Linked DNA regions of Homo sapiens: regions 1, 2, 4, 5 and 6 are each linked to region 3. Evidence: promoter capture Hi-C in 16 types of primary human blood cells and fetal thymus (Javierre and others, 2016). All regions are on one chromosome and are shown on one strand. Each heading gives the region's core, a stretch centred on a gene start or on the middle of the fragment in contact. The rest is flanking DNA. Distances are from core to core; before and after follow the strand shown.

Region 1 (3,516 bases), core at 416-2,915, 260 kb before region 3:
AAAAAATTAGCCGGGCGCGGTGGCAGGCGCCTGTAATCCCAATTACTCAGGAGGCTGAGGCAGGAGAATCGCTTGAACTTGGGGGGCGGAGGTCGCAGTGAGCCGAGATCGTGCCACTGCACTCCAGCCTCGGTGACAGAGTGAGACTCCATCTCAAAAAAAAAAGAAAAGAAAAGAAAAAAAGAAAAGGGCCATGTGAGGATACAGAGGAAGGTGGCGCCATACGCAGAGGGCTCAGGAGAAACCAGCTGTCCTGGGACCTTGATCTTAGACTTCCAGCCTCCAGAACTGTGAGATGATTTATTTTAACTCACCCAGACTCTGGTATTTTCTTATGGCAGCCCTAGACGACTAATACACTTTATTATTCTTTTTATGTCTGCAGGGTATGTAATGATATCCTTTGTTTCTTTTTTTTTTTTTTTTTTTTTGAGATGGAGTCTCGCTTTGTAGCCAGACTGGAGTGCAGTGGCCCGACCTTGGCTCACTGTAATCTCCACCTCCTGGGTTCAAGCAATTCTCCTGCGTCAGCCTCCCGAGTAGCTGGGACTACAGGCACCCACCACCACGCCCAGCTAATTTTTATTTTTTGTATTTTTAGTAGAGACAGGGTTTCACCATATTGGCCAGGCTGGTCTCGAACTCCTGACCTTGTGATCCACCTGACTCAGCCTCCCAAAGTACTAGGATTACAGGCGTGAGCCACCGCGCCTGGCCGATATCCCTTGTTTCATTCCTGACAGGGTAATTTGTGTCTTGTCCTTTCCCCCACTTAGTCTTGCTTGAGGTTTGTCTATTTAATTGATCTTTTCAAAAAAAATCAGCTGTCTGTTTTATTGGTTTTTCTCTATTACTTTCTGAGTCTCAACTTTATTTCTCTTCCTATCTTTATTATTTCTTTCTTAATACTTCTTTTGTTTGGGTTTAGTTTATTAAGTTTGACCTTTTCCCAGGTTATCGATGTGGAAAATTAGATTATCTGGAGACTTAGTTTTTTTCTTTTTTTTCTTCTTTTTTTTTGAGACAGTCTTGCTCTGTCGCCCAGGCTGGGGTGCAGTGGCGCCATCTCGGCTTACTGCAAGCTCCGCCTCCTGGGTTCATGCCATTCTCCTGCCTCAGCCTGGGACTACAGGCACCTGCTGCCACGCCCGGCTAATTTTTTTTTTTTTTTTTTTTTTTTTTTTGTATTTTTAGTAGAGACCGGGTTTCACCGTGTTAGCCAGGATAGTCTGGATCTCCTGGCCTCGGCCTCCCAAAGTGCTGGGATTACAGGCTTGAACCACCGCGCCCGACCAGCCTTTTCTAATATATGAGTTTAGTGCCATCAGTTTCTTCAGTACACTGCTTTAGTTGTGTCTTACAAATTTTGATCCATTGTCTTTTCATCATCTTTGTGGTCAATGTATTTTTTGTTTTCCCAGGGACTTCCCCTTCAAGCTTGCAAGAGTTGGAGATGTTTGCATTGTCTTCACATTATTGATTTCTAGTCTGACTCCATTATGATCCGAGAACACACTCCGTGTAATCTGATTTTTAAAATTTGTTGAAGTTTGTTTCATGGCCTAGGAGATGGTCTATCTTACTTTATGTTCCATGAGCCCTTGAAGAGAATGCATATGCTGCTGCTGTTGATTAAATTACTCTACAAATGTCAACCAGATCCTGTTGATGAATGATGGTGTTGAACTGTTGTCTTTTTTTTAGATTTGCTGCTGAAATTTTCTCTGTTCTATTGTTTAGAGAAAAATGTCAATATCTCCAACGATAATTGTGTATTTGTCTTATTGTCTGTTTCTCCTCTGTTTGTTCCAGTTTTTGTTTCACATTTTTCATGTCTGTTGATTTATGCCTACACATTTAGGACTGCTGGGTCTTCTGGGTGGATTAAGCTTTTTATCATTATGTAATTTCTCTCCATGTCTCAATTTTTTTCTCTGAAATCTACTTTATCCGATATTATTGTAACTACTCATGCTTTCCTTGATTACTTGTATCTTTTTCCAGCTTCTTATACTTTATTTATTTATTTTAAATTTATTTTTGATATGGAGTCTCACTCTGTTGCCCAGGCTGGAGTACAGTGGCGTGATCTCGGCTCACTGCAACTTCTGCCTCCCCAGTTCAAGCGATTCTCCTGCCTCAGCCTCCCAAGTAGCTGGGATTATAGGCACCAGCCACCACACCTGGCTAATTTTTGTATTTTTAGTAGAGCCAGGGTTTCACTATGTTGGCCAGGCTGGTCTTGAACTCCTGACCTCAAGTGATTCGCCCACCCCAGCCTCCCAAAGTGCTGGGATTACAGGCGTGAGTGAGCCACCACGCCTTGCCCAGCTTCTTATACTTTAAATTTACCTTTTTTTTTCTGATTTTATTCTGCTTTTTTTTTTTTTTTTTTTTTTTTTTTTTAGTATTTATTGATCATTCTTGAGTGTTTCTCGGAGAGGGGGATTTGGCAGGGTCATAGGACAATAGTGGAGGGAAGGTCAGCAGATAAACAAGTGAACAAAGGTCTCTGGTTTTCCTAGGCAGAGGGCCCTGCCGCCTTCCACAGTGTTTGTGTCCCTGGGTAGTTGAGATTAGGGAGTGGTGATGATTCTTAGAGCATGCTGCCTTCAAGCATCTGTTTAACAAAGCACAACTTGCACCGCCCTTAATCCATTTAACCCTTAGTGGACACAGCACCTGTTTCAGAGAGCACGGGGTTGGGGGTAAGGTTATAGATTAACAGCATCCCAAGGCAGAAGAATTTTTCCTAGTACAGAACAAAATGGAGTCTCCTATGTCTACTTCTTTCTACACAAACACAATAACAATCTGATCTCTCTTTCTTTTCCCCACATTTCCCCCTTTTCTATTCGACAAAACCGCCATTGTCATCATGGCCCGTTCTCAATGAGCTGTTGGGTACACCTCCCGGACGGGGCGGCTGGCCGGACGGGAGCTGCCCCCCACTTCCCAGATGGGGCGGCTGCCGGGCGGAGGGGCTCCTCACTTCTCAGACGGGGCGGCCGGGCAGGGACGCTCCTCACCTCCCAGATGGGGTGGCGGCGGGGCAGAGACACTCCTCAGTTCCCAGACGGGGTCGCGGCCGGGCAGAGGCACTCTTCACATCTCAGATGGGGCGGCAGGGCAGAGGTGCTCCCCACATCCCAGATGATGGGCGGCCAGACAGAGACGCTCCTCACTTCCTAGACGGGATGATGGCCGGGAAGAGGCACTCCTCACTTCCCAGACTGGGCGGCCGGGCAGAGGGGCTCCTCACATCCCAGACGATGGGCGGCCAGGCAGAGACGCTCCTCACTTCCTAGACGGGGTGGCGGCCGGGCAGAGGCTGCAATCTCGGCACTTTGGGAGGCCAAGGCAGGCAGTTGGGAGGTGGAGGTTGTAGCGATCCGAGATCACGCCACTGCACTCCAGCCTGGGCAACATTGAGCACTGAGTGAGCGAGACCCCGTCTGCAATCCCGGCACCTCGGGAGGCCGAGGGTGGCAGACCACTCGCAGTCAGGAGCTGGAG
Region 2 (3,577 bases), core at 659-3,158, 420 kb before region 3:
TATCTTCTCAGTATCACTTTTTGGAAAGAATCTTTTATGTTCTGCTCTGGCCAAAGATCTTGGGCAAAATGAGAACATATAACTGAAAGAAACAATAAAAACACATTACTTCAATTGCTAGACTCAGATAAATATACTTTACAAATCTAACCTATAAAATTATACAAACTACATAACTAAGATGACATAGTAAAATACCACAAGCTGTAATGTCTTCCTGAACATATAAATGTAACAAAAACATACAAACCAAAATGGCACAAATGTAACTGGTAAGGCAGGTAAATTTAACTCCATCTCAAAAACAAACAATTGAAAAACAATATTTTGAAGATGTCTTTACTGCTCAATTTAATCTACAGATTTAATGCAATGTCTTTCAAATGACTCACAGCATTTTCAAAGAAATAAAAACAACAAATTTAAAAGTATATGGAATCCAAACAGACAATAAAGTACCCAGCAATCTTCAAAAACAGGAACAATGTTACAGGCAATACCATTTCTGATTTCAAAACACATCAAAAAGCTACAGAATTAAAATAATTTGGTATGAGTATAAAGGTGAAAAAGTAGACTAATAAAACAGAATGCAGCAAATATATTACATTAACTTTCACATAATTATTGTAGCATTGTTACTGCAAGCCACTAGGTAAAAGTAATCGAAATTTGTGTCACCAAATCATTCAGTAGACACAAAAGTACAGGAATTATCACTCAGTTTTCAAAAAGCAGAAAATACTGTAACAACTATTAAGATAAATATTGATGACATTATGCAAAATAAAGTGACCCAGCCGCAAAAAGACAGAGATTGGATGAGATATATAAAGCAGTTATACTCTTAGAAACAGAAAACAGAGTGGTGTTTGAAAAGAACCACAAAATACAAAGGATTGGTAGTTATTTACTGTGTACTGAGATTTAGCTTTGCAAGATAAAAAACACTCTAGTGATATGTTGCATAACAATGTCAATATAATAAGACCAAACTGAATATTTGGAAATATATATATATTTTGAGATGGAGTCTCACTCTGTCTCCCAGGCTGGAGTGCCTCCTGGGTTCTAGTGATTCCCCTGCCTCAACCTCCTGAGTAGCTCGTACTACAGGCATGGGCCACCATGCCTGGCTAATTTTTTGTATTTTAGTAGAGATGGGATTTCACCATGTTGGCCAGATGGTCTCGATCTCCTGACCTCGGGATCCACCCACCTTGGCCTCCCAAAGTGCTGGGATAACAGGCGTGCACCTGTAGATACACCATATAAAATAATTTTTATATCAATAACAAACTGGAAAATATAGAGGCATAGTTTTTATTCAATTGAAGTTGTTATGAGATTAAAATATATTGTTTTAACTTTAAGATGTATGTAATCTCCAGTTTTTGAGATGATTACTAAGATATTATTTATACAAAGTATGCAAAAGAAAATAAAATATAATCAAAGCATGCCAGTACAAAATTAAATGAAAATTAAGTAAGTAAAACAGGAAATGAGAAAAATATAACTACTAGAAACACATAAAACAATAACAATATTAGTGGTAATAACAACTTCATTTCTTTAACCAATCATTTTAAATATAGATTAAACTACTAAATAAAATGAAATGTAATCATAGGAATTTGGAAGTTCAAGATGGGCTGATCACTTGAACCCAAAAGTTCAAGATCAGCCTGGGCAACATGGCAAACCTCTGTCTCTACAAAAAATACAAATAAGCTGGTTGACAGAGTGAGACACTATCTCAAAAATAAATGAGGCTGGGTGCAGTGGCTCATGCTAGTAATCCCAACACTTTGGGAGGCTGAGGCAGGCAGATCACCTGAATTCAGGAGTTCAAGACAAGCCTGGCCATCATAGTGAAATCCCGTCTCTACTAAACTTACAAAAAATTAGCTGGGCATGGTGGCATGCACCTGTAATCCCAGCTACTCAGGGGGCTGAGGCAGGAGAATCACTTGAAACTGGGAGGTGAAGGTTGCAGTGAGCTGAGATCATGCCATTGCACTCCAGCCTGGGCAACAAGAGTGAAACTCCATCTCAAAAACAAACCAAATAAAATAAATAAATAAATAAATACAAATATAAATATATATATAAATAAAATTATATAAAGAAAAAGATATAGAATGCCTAAGTGGTTTTTTTAAAAAAGCATACAGTGTGCTGCCTACAAGGGACTTACTTTAGCATTAAGTCAAATAGGCAGAAAGTAACAGAATGAAAAAAATGTATATTCCATGAAAATAGCAACCACAATTGAGTAAGGTGGTCATAATTATATTAGACATAATATGCTTTAAATCAAGTACTTCTACAAGACAAAAATTGATATTATATTGTGGGCAGCAAGCCACCTAGGTGCCGAGGCAGGAGACCAAGGACATGAGCTGTTCCAGCATAATAAAATATAAGATAAGAATAGTTATACCAGATATAGATCTTAGATATGATTATATATGAATATCATTAATCATTAGTTGGTAGCAATTACTTTTTATTCCAATATTATAATAATCCTCGATCTATAATCACAACCTAGGAAAAGCCAGGCCATACAGAGATAGGAGCTGAGGGGACATAGTGAGAAGTTACCAGAAGACAAGAGTGAGAGCCTTCTGTTATGCCCAGACAAGGCCACCAGAGGGCTCCTTGGTCTAGCAGTAATGCCAGCGTCTGGGAAGACGCCCGTTGCCTAGCAGACCGCGGTCTAGCAGTAGCCTCAGTGTCAAGGAAAAACACCTGCTACTTAGCGGACCAGGAAAGGGAGTCTCCCTTTCCCTGGGGGAGTTTAGAGAAGACTCTACTCCTCCACCTCTTGTGGAGGGCCTGACATCAGTCAGGCCTGCCTGCAGTTATCCGGAGGCCTAACCGTCTCCCTGTGATGCTGTGCTTCAGTGGTCACGCTCCTAGTCTGCTTTCAGGTTCCATACTGTACACCTGGCTCTGCCTTTTAGATAAGAGTAGCAAAATTAGTGAAAGTACTAAAAGTCTCTGATATGCAGAAATAATGGCATAAGCTGTCTCTCTCTCTCCCTCTCTCTCTCTGCCTTGGCTGCCAGGCAGGGAAGGGCCCCCTGTCCAGTGGACACGTGACCCACGTGACCTTACCTATCATTGGAGATGACTCACACTCTTTACCCTGCCCCTTTTGCTTTGTATTCAATAAATAACACTGCAGCCAGACATTCGGGGCCACTATCGGTCTCCACGTCTTGGTGGTAGTGGTCCCCCGGGCCCAGCTGTCTTTTATCTCTTTGTCTTGTGTCTTTATTTCTACAATCTCTTTTTTTTTTTTTTTTTTTTTTTTTGAGACGGAGTCTCGCTCTGTTGCCCAGGCTGGAGTGCAGTGGCGCGATCTCGGCTCACTGCAAGCTCCGCCTCCCGGGTTCACGCCATTCTCCTGCCTCAGCCTCCCAAGTAGCTGGGACTACAGGCGCCCGCCACTACGCCCGGCTAATTTTTTGTATTTTTAGTAGAGACGGGGTTTCACCGTTTTAGCCGGGATGGTCTCGATCTCCTGACCTCGTGATCCGCCCGCCTCGGCCTCCCAAAGTGCTGG
Region 3 (3,583 bases), core at 63-2,562:
GCCGAGATGGCGCCATTGCACTCCAGCCTGGGCAACAAGAGCAAAACTCCGTCTCAAAAAAAAAAAATTGAAAATTTAAAGAATATGGATTCCTGTGACACCATGCAGGCGGGGGCTGCCAGCAGGGAACCACTGCATAGAACATCTTGTAAATTCCCTCCAGGTTCCGGGTTGCGGCCTCAGCTTTGCCTTGGGGAGCCGCGGCCTTCTTTGGGCCTCAGTTTCCCCATCTTAGAAATCCAAGGGTGGCTGAGGGCCAGAGCACAGGCTATGACTCAGTTTAACCCACTGTAAAACGTAAATAACTAGAGGGACCGATTTCCTGGGCTGTTACGAGAAGGAAGAGGAGCTGGGAAAGACCTCAACAAACTGCAGCACTTAGCGTTATTACAGAAGCTATGATGGATCCCCGGGCTCCGCCTCCGGTCACACCGCCGGGAAAACTGAGGCCCGCCTGTGTCCCCGGAACCCCGCCCCCGAGCCCCGAGTGCCCAGACTCTGAGACCCCGGCGCAGAGTGATACTGACCCGACAGTCCTCGACGCGGCAAGTTCCGTTTGTAGTCGATGGGCCCATAGCCCCCCGGCGGAGGCATGTCCTGCTTCACCTTTGACGCCGCCATACTCGCAGTATCCCACACTTCCGGTCCCGGGCGGAAGTGACTTACTGCCACCGCCATGATGAGTGTGGCGGAAGCACTTGAGATGGTCCGCGGCACGGCTAGGAAGTCCCGGACAGTAGTGTAACTATCCGACCGCGCGGGAAAGCTCTGGCGGCGGACCCTGGGTAGGAATGCGCTGCCGGGCTGCAGCTGAGGGGTCTTTACTCCTCTTTTGCCCAGACAGGGCGTGACTCGCCTTGGTTCTTGCATTATAGGCCCTCGCGTTCACCTTGCCTCTGGGGTGTTGCGCAGGCCAGTCAGAAACTCCGAGCTCTCAAAGGAGCCAGGTGCCCCAGTTAAGGCCCCTTTTCCCGTTTTCGCCCCGTCTAGGGACTCTACGCGAAGCCCAGGGCTCCACGTAGTCACGGGCTGGGTACATGATGTTGGGGGGCAGCTGCTGCTCGAAGTCGGACTCACCCCAATCCCTGGAACGGATTCTGCTCCCTGGTGGTGATGGGTATCCCTTGCTAGTGGCCTCTCATCGGAAACTGACCATTCAGGATGATTATGAGTCACAAAGCAGGGAGGCTAGGGTGGCCCCGGGGCGGGGTCCCGGACCCCCACCCTAAGGCGGAGTGACGCCCGCAGTCACTTCACAAGGCAAAAATTGTTACGGGGCAATAAAAGGCACAACAGCGGCCAATGTCTGGCAGTGGGCACATGGGGGTGCGGGGGTGTAGGTGCCAAGCGCCATGGCTTAGACCCGAGATTGGAGTCCGGCCGCCCCCCGACAGCAGCCGCCTCCTGCCCCCCGTGCGCCCTAGGCGCCACCATGTCGGGAGACAAACTTCTGAGCGAACTCGGTTATAAGCTGGGCCGCACAATTGGAGAGGGCAGCTACTCCAAGGTGAAGGTGGCCACATCCAAGAAGTACAAGGGTACCGTGGCCATCAAGGTGGTGGACCGGCGGCGAGCGCCCCCGGACTTCGTCAACAAGTTCCTGCCGCGAGAGCTGTCCATCCTGCGGGGCGTGCGACACCCGCACATCGTGCACGTCTTCGAGTTCATCGAGGTGTGCAACGGGAAACTGTACATCGTGATGGAAGCGGCCGCCACCGACCTGCTGCAAGCCGTGCAGCGCAACGGGCGCATCCCCGGAGTTCAGGCGCGCGACCTCTTTGCGCAGATCGCCGGCGCCGTGCGCTACCTGCACGATCATCACCTGGTGCACCGCGACCTCAAGTGCGAAAACGTGCTGCTGAGCCCGGACGAGCGCCGCGTCAAGCTCACCGACTTCGGCTTCGGCCGCCAGGCCCATGGCTACCCAGACCTGAGCACCACCTACTGCGGCTCAGCCGCCTACGCGTCACCCGAGGTGCTCCTGGGCATCCCCTACGACCCCAAGAAGTACGATGTGTGGAGCATGGGCGTCGTGCTCTACGTCATGGTCACCGGGTGCATGCCCTTCGACGACTCGGACATCGCCGGCCTGCCCCGGCGCCAGAAACGCGGCGTGCTCTATCCCGAAGGCCTCGAGCTGTCCGAGCGCTGCAAGGCCCTGATCGCCGAGCTGCTGCAGTTCAGCCCGTCCGCCAGGCCCTCCGCGGGCCAGGTAGCGCGCAACTGCTGGCTGCGCGCCGGGGACTCCGGCTAGAAGCCGGGTGGTTCCAGCCATTCCTGCAGCCAAGGGCACTGGGCCAGGGCGGCGCACGCGCAAGAGGCGCGCTTCGAGGGAATATGCGAAGCTGCCGCGTGCTGCTGCACATGCGCTTTTTCCCTTCCGCTTCCCTCCCTTTCTTCCCACGGGGGAGTCCGCAGTTGCCCTTGTTCGGAATCCACGTTCCCCGCGATCCCGGGAGCTGGAGGCGCATGCGCATCCGCGATTCCCTGCGACCAGGCCCCGAGAGGGCGAGACCAGAGGGGACGGAAGCATTGCGCCTGCGCGGAACTCTCAGCCTCTGCGCGGAGGGCGTCCCTTCCCAACCAGCCGTGGGTGCCAGGTTCCCGGTTGGAACCTGCAATAAACTCGCTGTTCCTCGCACCTGGCTCTAACGGTGGCCCCCATTTGCGGACTAGTGGAGAAGCGATCGCTCCATCCGGGGAAGGCAGGCGCGGGTACCCTATTTTAGAGTCACGCATGTTGAGGTTATTGCTCCAAGACTCAAAAGGGAGTCGGGAGGATTCGAGCCTGGACCTTTTGAGCTCCCCAGTATGGGCAAACTCAAAGGAGCTTTGTTGTCCCCGGGTCGTGATGTCGCTGTGATGATGGGCTGGGAAGCAAGTGGACCCCAGCGCCTCGCCGTCCACATCTTTTAAGAATGGAACAGCCAGGGGTGGGGCGAGGGTGGCCTGTCTCCACGTAAAGTAGGAGTTTATAGATAAGGAAACTGAGGCCCACATGGATGTCACTTGCCAAAAGGCAGAGCCAAGGGCCAGGCGCGGTGGCTCACGCCTGTAACCCCAACACTGCGAGTCCGAAGCGGGCAGATATCTTGAGGTCAGGAGTTCGAAAACAGCCTGGGCATCACAGCCGAGACCTCATCTCTTGTTTGTTTGTTTGTTTGTTTGTTTGTTTTTTGAGACAGAGTCTCGCTCTGTCGCCCAAGCTGGAGTGCAGTGGCACGATCTCGGCTCACTGCAACCTCCGCCTCCCGGGTTCAAGCGATTCTCCCGCCTTAGCCTCCCAAGTAGCTGGGACTACAGGCGCGTGTCCCCCCACCCGGCTAATTTTTGTATTTTTAGTAGAGACGGGGTTTCACCATCTTGGCCAGGCTGGTCTTGAACTCCTGACTTCGTGATCCACCCGCCTCGGCCTCTCAAAGTGTTGGGATTACAGGCGTGAGCCAACGCGCCCTGGACCCTGCCTCTTAAAAAAAAAAAAAAAAAAAAAAAAGGAAAAGAAAAAAGAAAGAAAAAGAAAAACCCCGGGCGCGGTGCTCACGCCTGTAATCCCAGCACTTCGGGAGGCCAAGGCGGGTGGATC
Region 4 (3,594 bases), core at 292-2,791, 440 kb before region 3:
CCCACCCTCAGACACTGAATCTGCAGCAGCAACTTGTTTTCTCCACCAACCTAAGCTTCTGGGCCACCTGTTCATGATCTCATCTGCCTGCATTCACACAGAAATAAATCAGTACAGCCCCACCTGGGCCACTATCTGTAGTGAAAATCAGTCCTTTCAGCTACATTGCACTCTGCCATCCAGGGATATTTTTTCTTTTAGCTTTTATTTTTGGTTCGGGATATACATGTGTCTTTGTTTTACAGCTAAAATTATGTCATGGGGGTTTGGTGTGCAGATTATTTTGTCACTGAGGTACTACCCGTAGCACCAAACAGGTCTGTTTTCTCATCCTCTTAGTCCTCCCACCCTCCACCCTCATCTAGGCCTCAGTGTCTGTTGTTCTTCTCTTTGTGTTCATGTGTTCTTATTATTTAGCTATTACTTATAAATAATAACATGCATTTGGTTTTCTGTTTCTGTATTAGTTTTCTCTTTTTTTGTTGTTTTTTGTTTTGTTTTTTGAGATGGAGTTTTACTCTTTTTGCCCAGACTGGAGTGCAATGGTGCAATCTTGGCTCACTGCAACCTTCGTCTCCCAGGTTCAAGCGATTCTCCTGCCTCAGCCTCCCTAGTAGCTGGGATTAGAGGTGCATGCCACCATGCCCTGCTAATTTTGTATTTTTAGTAGTGATGGGCTTTTTCCATGTTGGTCAGGCTGGTCTCAAACTCCCGACTGCAGGTGATTTGCCCACCTCCCTCCCAAAGCGCTGGGATTACAGGCACAAGCCACCATGCCCAGGCTCTCCGTTAGTTTTCTAAGAATAGTGGTCTCCAGGTTCACTGATGTTTTTGCAAAGGACATGATCACTTTTTTTAATGGCCACAGAGTATTCCACGATGTTTATGTACCATATTTTGTTTTTACTAAATCTTTTATTTTATTTTATTTTTGGAGACAGGGTCACACTTATGGCCCAGGCTAGAGTGTCATAGCATGATATTGGCTTACTTTAGCCTCAACCTCCCAGGCTCAAGCAATTGTCTCCTACCTCATCCTCCTAAGTACTTGGTGTGGGGGGACTACACATGTGCTTTACCACACCTGGCCAATTTCTATTTTTGTATTTTGCATGGAGACAGGATTTTGCCCTGTTGCCCAGGCTGGTCTCAAACTTCTAAGCTCAGGCAATCCACCTGCCTCAGCCTCCCAGAGTGCTGGGATTACAGGCATGAGCCACCGCGTCTGACCATACCGTGTTTCCTTTATCCATTGATAGGCATTTAGGGCCTGTCCATGTCTTTGCTATTGTGAATAGGGAATCAACTGTATTGTTCTTTTTGAGTGGGTATGTATTGTAGCTGGAACAGGGAGTTCCTGGTTTGAAAGGACAATGTTAATGTTGGGAGTAAGGCAGACTAGGGCGCAAGTGCCTGTCCAGTTAGTAAGGAGACAGAAGTATGTTGTGGACCCGCAGAGAAAGAAGATGCCTGAGGTATTTATGCAAACAGACAGGTGGATTGAGAGTAGGTGTTGCAGTTTGTAGGTTCCCCACTTGGAGGGACTTGGCTCAGCTTCAGCAACCCAGAGTGAGAAAGAGACAGAAACCCCTTTGAGCACTCCTGTCCAAGGAAGGGGTTTCCATGTTTGAGAGGTGGGAGGGAGGAAATGCAGAAGGGCTGAGTAAAGAGACCGTTGACTTCAGGGGAGACTGAATAATCCACTCAGAGTGAGATATGGGAGGAAGGGTGAGAGATGGTTCGGGTTGAGTTACAGGCAGAGGGAAGGAGGGTGCCTACGTGTACGTGTCCATTGGAAGAGGTGATGCATAAGGGGGCTTGGCCAAGTCTTGTGGTATGGAGAGTTATGAGACCTTGGATGGTGGGGTATGGGAGTTTTGAGTCATCATAGTTGGCAATATAGATTGAAGAGGAGCTTGGTAGCTCTGTCAGTGAGGGCAGTGGGATAGTTTCCAGTGAGAGTGAGGGCTCTGTCTACAAAGGCAGGTCCCTTTTGGATGTTGTAAGAGAAGTGAATGGGAAAATGGTCTCAGGGCTAAGAAATTGGGATAGCTGAGTAGGCAGTAGAGGAAAGGCAAAAATAGGTCCAGAAACTGGAAGCAAATGTTGAATTGGAGCACAGTAACAAAAAGTGAGTGAGGTTGAGAGATCATTCGAGACTTGTAGAAGTGAGAAGGGACCCTGAGGAGGTAGAGGCCATGGGGCTGGCTGTCAAAAGAATTAGGAATCTGAGGAAGAATCAGAATCTGTTGTTGGAGAGAGGAGCTGGTAGGATCCATACAGGGAGGTGGCTTCTTCTAGGGGGTCTATGAGGTGGCTGATAGCGTCCCATGGATGGTCAAATTCTCCTTGCAGATGGGCAAGGTATAGGTGGGTTAAGACTTTTCCTCATGTGGAAATGGGGAGAGAAGAGAGGGATTCTAATATTTGGTATGCTGTAGGGTGAGGCTGTTCCTTGTCACGAGGACCTTGGCATCTGTAGCAGGGGCAGAAGTGATATGTAAAAGAGTTACCGCTCGTGGGCCTTCTTCAGGGATGGGCGTCAGGCAGAGTTTGGTTGGACAAAGGAGGGTGCTGGAGGATTGGTGGAGGACAGTCTGTGGTTCAGTAGGCACTGCAGGAGCCCTTTTTACTCTGGAAAGATGGTACCAAGAGGCATGTCCTGAGTTTGGCTGCAGTGGGGGTTGTAAGGATAATTTGAAAAGGGCCTTCCCACCTTGGTTTTAGCCTTGTTGGGTTAAGAGTTTTTAGGAAGACATACTTTCCTGGTAGGAGAGTCCAGTCAGTGGGGCCTTTGTGGGGTTTTGGGAGGGCTTGATCATTCACAGAGGAGATGACGGATAAGGGAGAAGGTTGGGAGATATTCTCCTAGCTGGGAGTCGAGAGGAGGCCTGTTTTGTAAGAGGAAAGGGCGTCCATACATTAACTCAAATGGGCTAAGGAAGAAGGGTGATTTCGGACTTGCTCTGATGCAGGCCAGTGCTATGGGCAAAAGGGAGGTCCATGGTTTTTGGACTTTAAGCTTGAGTTTGGTTAACTGAGCCTGAAGGATCCCATTTGCCCTTCTGACTTTTCTGGATGACTGGGGCCATTATGGGATACGGAAGCACCTCTGGACGCCAAGGGACTGAAAAACCTGTTGGATGATCTGGGAGATGAAGCTAGGGCCATTGTCTGATTGTATGGAGTGAGGGAGACCAAATATAGGGATGATTTCTGTTGTAAGGATTTGAGAGACTACTGCGGCCTTTTCTGAAGAGGTACGTAATGCCTCTACCCACCCAGAGAAGGTGTCTATAAGAGTAAGAAGAAATTTTGTCTTCTTGACGGGAGGCATGTGGGTGAAGTCTACCTGTCAGTCCTCCTCTGGGAGTGTTCCTCTGAGCTGATGTGTAGGAATAGGAGGAGAGCGGAGGGCCCCTTGGGAGGAAGTAACAGAGCATATATGACAGTTTGAGGTTATGTGTCTTAGTGAGATGAATAGGTGGGGGGAGGAGAAATAAGGGCAAAGGAGTAGGTACAGGAAGTGTGCACCGATATGGAAGGATTGGTGAAGAGATGTTAGAATTTATTTGGTTTGTTCTTGGGGGAGGA
Region 5 (4,044 bases), core at 973-3,472, 400 kb before region 3:
GAACTGCTCCATGAAGATAAAAATATAAGTTTCTCCTTTCCTGTCCTCAGGTGCCCTCCCCTGCCATAGACACCAGCAACTTTTGCTACAGTAATGGAAATATGCACCACACTTACCTGTCCCTACCAAACCCAAATAGAATAGGCCCTGTGACCACCCTCTAGTTCACAGGTGGAATTTAACTCTCATGAATATATTTTAAAGCCCTTATACTTGATTCTGGAATCACCTTAGAGTCACATGAGGCACTTCATTAAAAAAACATGGATGCTTCCACCCACAACAATAAACAGAAGCTGTGGGGAGGGTACAAGAGATTTCAGCAAATTGGTCATGTGATCCTAATGAGAAGCCTGGGCTGATAACCACTAAGCTAAGCATTGCCTCTCAAGCTTTAACGAGCTTATAAATCACTTGATAATTGTGGCCGCACATTCTGTAATGTGATTCTGTATGTTTGAAGAGGGTTTATGAATGAGTGTTTTAAACAAGTCCCCTGTCAATGCTGATGTTGCTCCCCACTGGCTCATTATGAGCATTAGTTAGAGAAAGCAGGAACAGCACAGGGTCCCTTACACTTAACACTCTTGCCATAACCAAATACTTCTAGTAAAAATAAGGACAGCCCATTCCATTTAAAAGTTTTATATTTTTTGCTGGCTCTTTAAAATTTACAGAGGAAACAGAAGACAGCAATATCTGAATAAGTCTGTATTTTAAAAAGAACATGTACACAGGTACTAATGCAATGTTTATTAAGCAGGCACTATGTGCTAGAGTATGATACAGAGCACGGTGCTGGGCATAACACATTATATGATTTAATTCTCTTAACACCCGGGGAGCTGGTACTAAGTGTTTCTTAATTTTCAGGATTTAGATAAAGGGCCCATTTTTATTTTTTCTTCTGTTTCTCTGTCATCAAATTTTTTAAAAAATTGTATAGAATAAAAGCTAAATATAGACAGATGAAAGAGATACAGAAGAGTTTAATGTAGTCTAGAGAAAATTTCATTCTGTTTATATTTACTTTTTTGACTTGTGCAGCAACTACTGGATCTGCAGGAATAGAAAACAAGTTGCTAAATACAATGTCTCTGCAAGCACTGGTTTTAATAAAAAATTTAAAAACAAACACCTTACAAAACATACTTTTTTTCCCGATTTATCTGCTTTTGAATTTCAGGAAATTGTGAGCACCAGCTCTAGAAAGGCAGCAGGATTCAGCAGCCAAAACTCTGATCTCCTTTAATGAGTTCTGTGAGGCAATACTCCAGGGTAGGTTCAGACCTAACTAAGGTCTCCAAAAAGGATGAATCTGAACACGTCTGGGGCAGGGTGAGAACCCTATGTAGAATTCTGTTCTCTATGCAACTAGGAAACTTCCAGTTTTGTTTTGTTTCTAAGCTTACCTAAAAGAAACTTAAATCCCAGAGTTTCTGTAGTTTTTATCTTTTCTAGTCACTGCCCTGACAACTTTATACTATATACTAGTATGCAACTTAAACAAATCCCTTAAGGTTTTCTAGGGTAATTTTATTAGAAAATAAATATCTACAGTTAGCAAGGTAAAAGAAATAGAAAATATACGGCCAAGCGCGGTGGGTCATGCTTGTAATCTCAAGACTTTGGGAGACCAAGGCGGGTGCAGAACGAGGTCAAGCAGTTAAAGACCAGCCTGATCCAGATGATGAAACCCCGCCTCTAGTAAAAATACAAAAATTAGCTAGGTGCAGTGGCAGGCAACTGTAATCCCAGCTACTCGGGAGGCTGAGAAGGGAAAGTCACCTGAACCCGGGCGGCAGAGTTTACAGTGAGCCGAGATCGTGCCACTGCAAGCCAGACCAGGTGACAGAGTGAAACACCATCTCAAAAAAAAAAAAGAATTTATAACAATTATTTTGTTCATAAATCTCCCTTCAGGTGTAGACATCAGAAGTCACAACAATATAAAGAAAGTGGTCTAAAGCCCAAGATTTTTAACACATCTATTTATTATACCAACCATATGATGCACACTTCAATTACTTATCCAGTAGCTAGTCTAGACTAAAAGTTTCTGGATTGTAGGAACTATGACTGCTTCATGTATTTTTTTAATGCCCATATGAAGTGGAAGGAGCTAGTTTATCTATCTGGGTCTCCAGATCTTCTCCTTATTATCCAAGTACCAGGAAACTGGAGAAGCTGTCATCGGGGTACCAACCAAAGATATCTCTTGTATGAGGGAATGAACAAACACAGGATGACTCATTTCTCTTACACTGAGACAGAAGCAGAATTAACCACTCTTGTCAGCCTGACAAAATTCTGCTCTGGACATCCTCAAATGCCTCAAAGACACCTGGGTGATTGTGAGAGATTCCCAGTGACCCAGGCCTCATGGCCCAATGATAAGCCAGGCTGGAGAGACTCAGGCTAACTCTGAATAGAAAATGGAACTGCCCTGGTGGAGCTCCAGAACCTGGATCACCCATTCTGATTTGCTAGCTCTTGGGTAAGAGAAAGATCAAAAATACTCTACTCTAGTATTACATTTTACAGCTAAATATAATTGTGGTCATGGCTCTGGATACTTTGTGGCCCCGATCTCTCACTCCTAAGATGCTTATTTACACTTACAGATTCTGCCATCTGAGTCTATTTCTCCTGGAGCCCCTCACATAACTGTAGCAGGTCAATGAACAAGATGTGAAAATCTCAAAGAGCCACACTCCCAAATGGGGGCTGTAAGATGTCTATGTTTACATTCACAATGCAGAAAATGACTTTTGTTCATTTTCTGTACATTCTCAATCCAAGTTCTGGTCCTTTCTTGTAAATCCCAGGCAGAGGCCAGACCTTATCTGCAGATTCCAGGTAGGATCCACCTGGCTCTGCATCCTTTGGTGTTACAGCAAGTGGAATACAATCAAAGGAGAGATCCCCTCATAGAGACTACTCTAGCACATTCTAAATGGTAAGTCTACATGAAAAAAAAAAAAAAAAGCTGAAAGAACATGAATATAAGTAGATAGTTTACTTGGGTCAAGCTTAAGGATTATAACCTGGGAGCAAAGATTCAAGTTGCCTGGAATCTGCATTTTGATTACCAGCAGTTACAAGACAATTTGTAAAGACAACAAGACAGGGACAGAGAGTGGGCTGATACAAAGTTGATTGTCAGAAATTTTTATTTATTTACAGAAATAACATCGATTATTGATTACATATATATTATTATGGTTTAGGGTATGGGATATAGTGTCTAATGTGGCATTATTAGTTTAATTTATAATTACTTGTGGCAATAGTGAACAGTTTCAAGAGATGAATACATAGTTCAAAGGGGGGAGAAAGACATAACAGTACTTTCATTTTAATGTCTGAGTTTGATAACCAAAGGGACTTGCATTTCTTAGGTAAGTTTTTTTTTCCCCCAAATCTCAAGACCTGGATTCAAAATTTGGAGCTTCAAGTTTAGGGCCTGAACGACTGGAGTAGCCACAGGTGTTTACCTGTACATTTGTGAGCATTTAGCAAGAGGAGGAAGGGGAAAGTGGAGATTCTCATGTCTCTATGTCTACTCAGCACACACATGTTACTCTGATTGGGTTTCTGGGCTCCATAGTTTCTGAATCAGTTTCAAATCTGAAGATACAAGAGTCACTGAAAAAGGTTAAATGATTAATTAATTGCTGCCCTGTGAAGTTTGTAGAAATTGGGTCTAGCCTCTCTAGAAGTGACAGTAGAGGAACTATCAATACCAAATAGGCAGAGACAAAATTCCACGTGCATATTTAATGGACAGCATGCATTTTGCTGCGCAAGTATGGGCTGACTCAAAGTCTGAGAGGGAAAGTCCCCTCTACAGTAAATTCTGGTTGGCACCTTATGTGTTTATATCATGTCTGGTAATTCTAGACACTCTGTGGAAACAATAATTAAAAGAAAAATTTTCTCTATTTTCAGAGAAACTCCACAATAATAGAACAGAAAGAAAATGGTCTTATTACACAATTAAACTTGAATGTGACATACATCATCATCAATCTGCTTAAGAGA
Region 6 (3,566 bases), core at 613-3,112, 450 kb before region 3:
ATAGCAAAATGGATAAGAGTTTACCAACGAAATATCTACTGTCTTCAAGAGGCTCACCCAACACATAACGACTCACTTAAACTTAAGGTAAAGGGTTAGAAAAAGATATTCCATGCAAATATACCCCAAAAGAAAGCAGTAGTAGCCATTCTTACATTAGACAAAACAGACTTTAAAGCAAAAACAGTCAAAAAGAAAAAGACAAAGAGGGACATTATGTAATGATAAAGAAACTAGTCCAATAGGAAAATATCACAATTCTAAATATGTATGCGCCTAACACTGGAGCTCCTAAATTTATAAAACAATTACTACTAGACCTAAGAAATTACATAGATGGCAATACAATTATAATGGGGGACTGCAATACTCTACTGACAACACTAGACAAGTCATCAAGACAGAAAGTCAACAATAACAAAAAAAAAATGGACTTAAGCTATACCCTAGAAGAAATGGACTTGCCAGATATTTACAGAGCATTCTACCCAACAACTTCAGAATATACATTTAATTCATCAGCACATGGAACATTCTCCAAGATAGACATATGATAGGCCACAAAACAAGTCTCAATAAATTTAAGACAATCAAAACCATATCAACTACTCTCTCAGACTACAGTGTAATAAAATTGAAAATCAACTCCAAATGAACCATCAAAACCATGCAAATACTTGAAAATTAAATAAATTTTGGAAAAAACATTAAACTTAAGATCAACCCATTTTTGAATGATCGTTGGATGAAATCAAGATAGAAATTAAAAATTCTTTGAACTGAAAGATAATAGTGACACAACCTATCAAAACATCTGGGATACAGCAAAAGCAGTGCTAAAAGGAAAGTTCATAGTATCAAATGCCTACATCAAAAAGTCTGAAAGAGCGTAAGTAGACAATCTAAGATAACACCTCAAGGAACTGGAGAAACAAAAACAAGTCAAACCCAAACCTAGCAGAAGAAAAGAAAGACCAGAACTAAATGAACTGAAACAAACGGAAAAAAAATACAAAAGATAAATGAAATGAAAAGCTAACTCTTAGAAAACATAAATAAAATTCATAGGCCATTAACAGCATTAACCAAGAAAAGAAGAGAGAAGATCCAAATAAGCTCCATTAGAAATGAAATGGAAGCTATTGCAACTGATGCCACAGAAATACAAAAGATCACATTCAGGGCTACTATGAACACATTTACATGCAAAAACTAGAAAATCTAAAGGAGATGAATAAATTCCTGGAAATGTGCAATCCTCCTAGATTAAAAAAACAAACTCTGAACAGACTAATAACAGGCAGTGAGATTGAAATAATAATTTCACAAATTGCCAAGCAAAAACAAAAGTTCAGAACCAGATGAATTCACTGCTGAACTCTATCAGACATTCAAAGAAAAATTGGTGGGGGTGGGGCCAAGATGGCTGACTAGCAGCAGCATCCCATAGAAAAGAACCATAATAGCATGTGAATCCTGCACTGACATCTGAGGTATCCAGTTTCTCTCATCAGAACTGACTAGGTGGCTGGTGTGACCCATGGAGAGGAAGGAAAAGCAGTGTGGTGTGGCAACCCACCTGACAGCCAAATGGGGCTGGGGAGCCCCCAGCCCCAGCCAAGGGGGGCAGTGAGTGAGCAGGCTACTCAGTCTGGGAAACTGCGCTTTCTCTATGGAACAGTGAATCCCACTGATTAGAAGATTCAACTTGTGAACCCACGCCACTGGAGCCTAAGGTTCCAACTGTTGGAAACAAGAGCTTGGAGTCACAAAGAAAATGAGCACTCAAACAACGAATTTCTCAGCAAGGCAAATTTACTTCTGCAGAAGAGGCTGCTCATGTCTCTGGCTGTTGTGAGAGCACACCATACAAGAGAGGGAAGGGGTTTTTATCCCTAATGCAGTCCCTACTTCTGTGTCCTGTCCCCATTGGCTGGAGTCAGACTGCACAATCTAAACTAACTGGATTGGCTAAATAGAGAAAGGCGGGAAGTTTGTTTACAGAGCAGGTAACTAGGAGTGAGGAGGACTTCTTCCAAATAAGAAGAGATGTGGGTTACAGATTGGGACTGGCTGGAAGAGTTGTTTACTGGCAGGAAGAGCAGGTAGTTAGGAGCAGGAAGGTACAAGGAAGTTGAATTTGAGAACAAAGAACAAGGAAGTTACCCTTTGAAGAGGAACTTACTGTGCCTGACACAACCCTGGAGCTGAGCAGATTCTCAACAGCCTCTCAGCTAGAATCTGCTTAAGCCTGCTAAGTTCCCAGTGGAGGGACGACCAGCACCACAGCTGTGGCTTGCTGCTGTCTAAGCTGTTTGAGCTCCTTGGGGGAGGGACAGCAGCCAGCACGGGGACTCACAACTGCCTAACAGGCTAAGATCCCTGGGTGGGGAAAGGCAGCAGCCATATCTATAGCTCCTGACCACACTTTTCCCCTGCTAGAGCCAGGGAGGCTGGACAGCTTGGTCTCAAGAGGTGTCCCCCACAGCCCAACACACCGGCTGTGGCTGACTGCAGCCAGAATGTCTCTTCAGGCCTGACCCTCACCCATCCCTCCTCACTGGGCAGGGCCTCCCAGCAGGAACTCCAACAGCTCCAGCCAGGGGCTCAGGGACAGAACTGTGATCTCCCTGGGCCTGAGCCCCTAGGGGGAGAAGAGGCTGCATCCTCTGTGAATCAGCAGACTTAGCCTTTCCTCCTGCTTGCTCTGAGGAATTCGGGCAGCCCAGACGAGTGGGATTTTCCCTAGCAAAAAGCCCCTCCTCCACCAAGGAACAGTCAAAGTGCTTCATTTAATGGGTTTTGCTCCCCATGCCACCCAACTGGGTGTGACCCTTCAGCAGGGGTTGTCAGACACTCTATACAGGAGCGATCCTACTGGTATCAGGTTGGTGCCTCTTGAGTTCAGAGATCCCAGAGAAAGGAGCAGGCACCCTTCTTTGTTGTTCTCGAAACTTCTTGAGTGACATCTCCAGGTACAGGAGTGAAACAGATGAATAGGGCCTGAAGTGACCCCCCAGCAAACTGCAGCAGCCCTACAGAAGAGGGACCTGACTATTGAAAGAAAAACAAACAAACAGGAAGAAACAACAACAGCATCAACAACAAAAGCATACCCACAAAAACCCCATCCAAGGCTGGGCGTGGTGGCTCACACCTGTAATCCCAACACTTTGGGAGACCGAGGCAGGCAGATTGCTTGAGGTCAGCAATTCGAGACCAGCCTGGCCAATATAGTGAAACCCTGCCTATACTAAAAAATGCAAAACTTAGACTGCCGTGGTGGTGCATGCCTGTAGTCCCAGCTACTTGGGAGCCTGAGACATGAGAATCAATTGAACCTGGGAGGCGGAGGTTGCAGTGAGCCAAGATTGTGCCACTGCACTCCATACTGGGTGACAGAGTGAGACTCTATTTCAAAACAAAACAAAACAGAACAAAAAAACTCATCCAAGTGTCAGCAGTCTCAAAGATGGAAACTAGACAAACTCATGAAGATGAGAAAGAATCAACAAAAACCCCTGAAAGGCCCAAGTGCCTCTTCTCCTCCAAATGATCACAATGTC

The links. The method cuts DNA at HindIII sites, captures the fragments that hold promoters and counts their contacts. A CHiCAGO score of 5 or more calls a contact.
Region 1: a fragment that was not itself captured here is called in contact with the fragment with the promoter of TSSK6 in region 3 in 1 of 17 cell types (non-activated CD4 T cells); the score reaches 5.1 in non-activated CD4 T cells.
Region 2: a contact is called between a fragment that was not itself captured here and the fragment with the promoter of TSSK6 in region 3, in 2 of 17 cell types (total CD4 T cells and naive CD4 T cells). The highest score is 5.6, in total CD4 T cells.
Region 4: a fragment that was not itself captured here is called in contact with the fragment with the promoter of TSSK6 in region 3 in 6 of 17 cell types (naive B cells, non-activated CD4 T cells, total CD4 T cells and 3 more); the score reaches 8.0 in naive B cells.
Region 5: a contact is called between a fragment that was not itself captured here and the fragment with the promoter of TSSK6 in region 3, in 1 of 17 cell types (non-activated CD4 T cells). The highest score is 5.1, in non-activated CD4 T cells.
Region 6: a fragment that was not itself captured here is called in contact with the fragment with the promoter of TSSK6 in region 3 in 9 of 17 cell types (naive CD8 T cells, naive B cells, activated CD4 T cells and 6 more); the score reaches 8.9 in naive CD8 T cells.

What each region holds. Positions count from the first base shown.
Region 1 is chr19:19,769,711-19,773,226 of GRCh38, reverse strand. All of the region lies in intron 1 of LINC00663 (long intergenic non-protein coding RNA 663), which reads left to right. Among named protein-coding and RNA genes, the nearest start is that of LINC00663, 4.9 kb to the left of the region's middle. The HindIII fragment of the contact is 452 bases long and covers 1,440-1,891 here.
Region 2 is chr19:19,929,687-19,933,263 of GRCh38, reverse strand. ZNF93 (zinc finger protein 93) reads right to left here. Exons shown (of 4, transcript NM_031218.4): 4 at 1-82. Among named protein-coding and RNA genes, the nearest start is that of ZNF93, 31 kb to the right of the region's middle. The HindIII fragment of the contact is 4,278 bases long and covers 1-3,577 here.
Region 3 is chr19:19,513,277-19,516,859 of GRCh38, reverse strand. It overlaps TSSK6 (testis specific serine kinase 6), which reads left to right and starts at 1,312. Exons shown (of 1, transcript NM_032037.4): 1 at 1,312-2,641. The coding sequence starts at 1,433. The coding sequence ends at 2,254. NDUFA13 (NADH:ubiquinone oxidoreductase subunit A13) reads right to left here and starts at 635. Exons shown (of 5, transcript NM_015965.7): 1 at 528-635. The coding sequence starts at 621. RefSeq lists an enhancer at 457-736 and a silencer at 947-1,066. The HindIII fragment of the contact is 18,272 bases long and covers 1-3,583 here.
Region 4 is chr19:19,948,841-19,952,434 of GRCh38, reverse strand. It overlaps the pseudogene BNIP3P12. Among named protein-coding and RNA genes, the nearest start is that of ZNF93, 50 kb to the right of the region's middle. The HindIII fragment of the contact is 2,967 bases long and covers 58-3,024 here.
Region 5 is chr19:19,909,595-19,913,638 of GRCh38, reverse strand. All of the region lies in intron 1 of ZNF93 (zinc finger protein 93), which reads right to left. Among named protein-coding and RNA genes, the nearest start is that of ZNF93, 11 kb to the right of the region's middle. The HindIII fragment of the contact is 1,625 bases long and covers 1,410-3,034 here.
Region 6 is chr19:19,965,317-19,968,882 of GRCh38, reverse strand. It overlaps the pseudogene BNIP3P12. Among named protein-coding and RNA genes, the nearest start is that of ZNF93, 66 kb to the right of the region's middle. The HindIII fragment of the contact is 4,313 bases long and covers 1-3,566 here.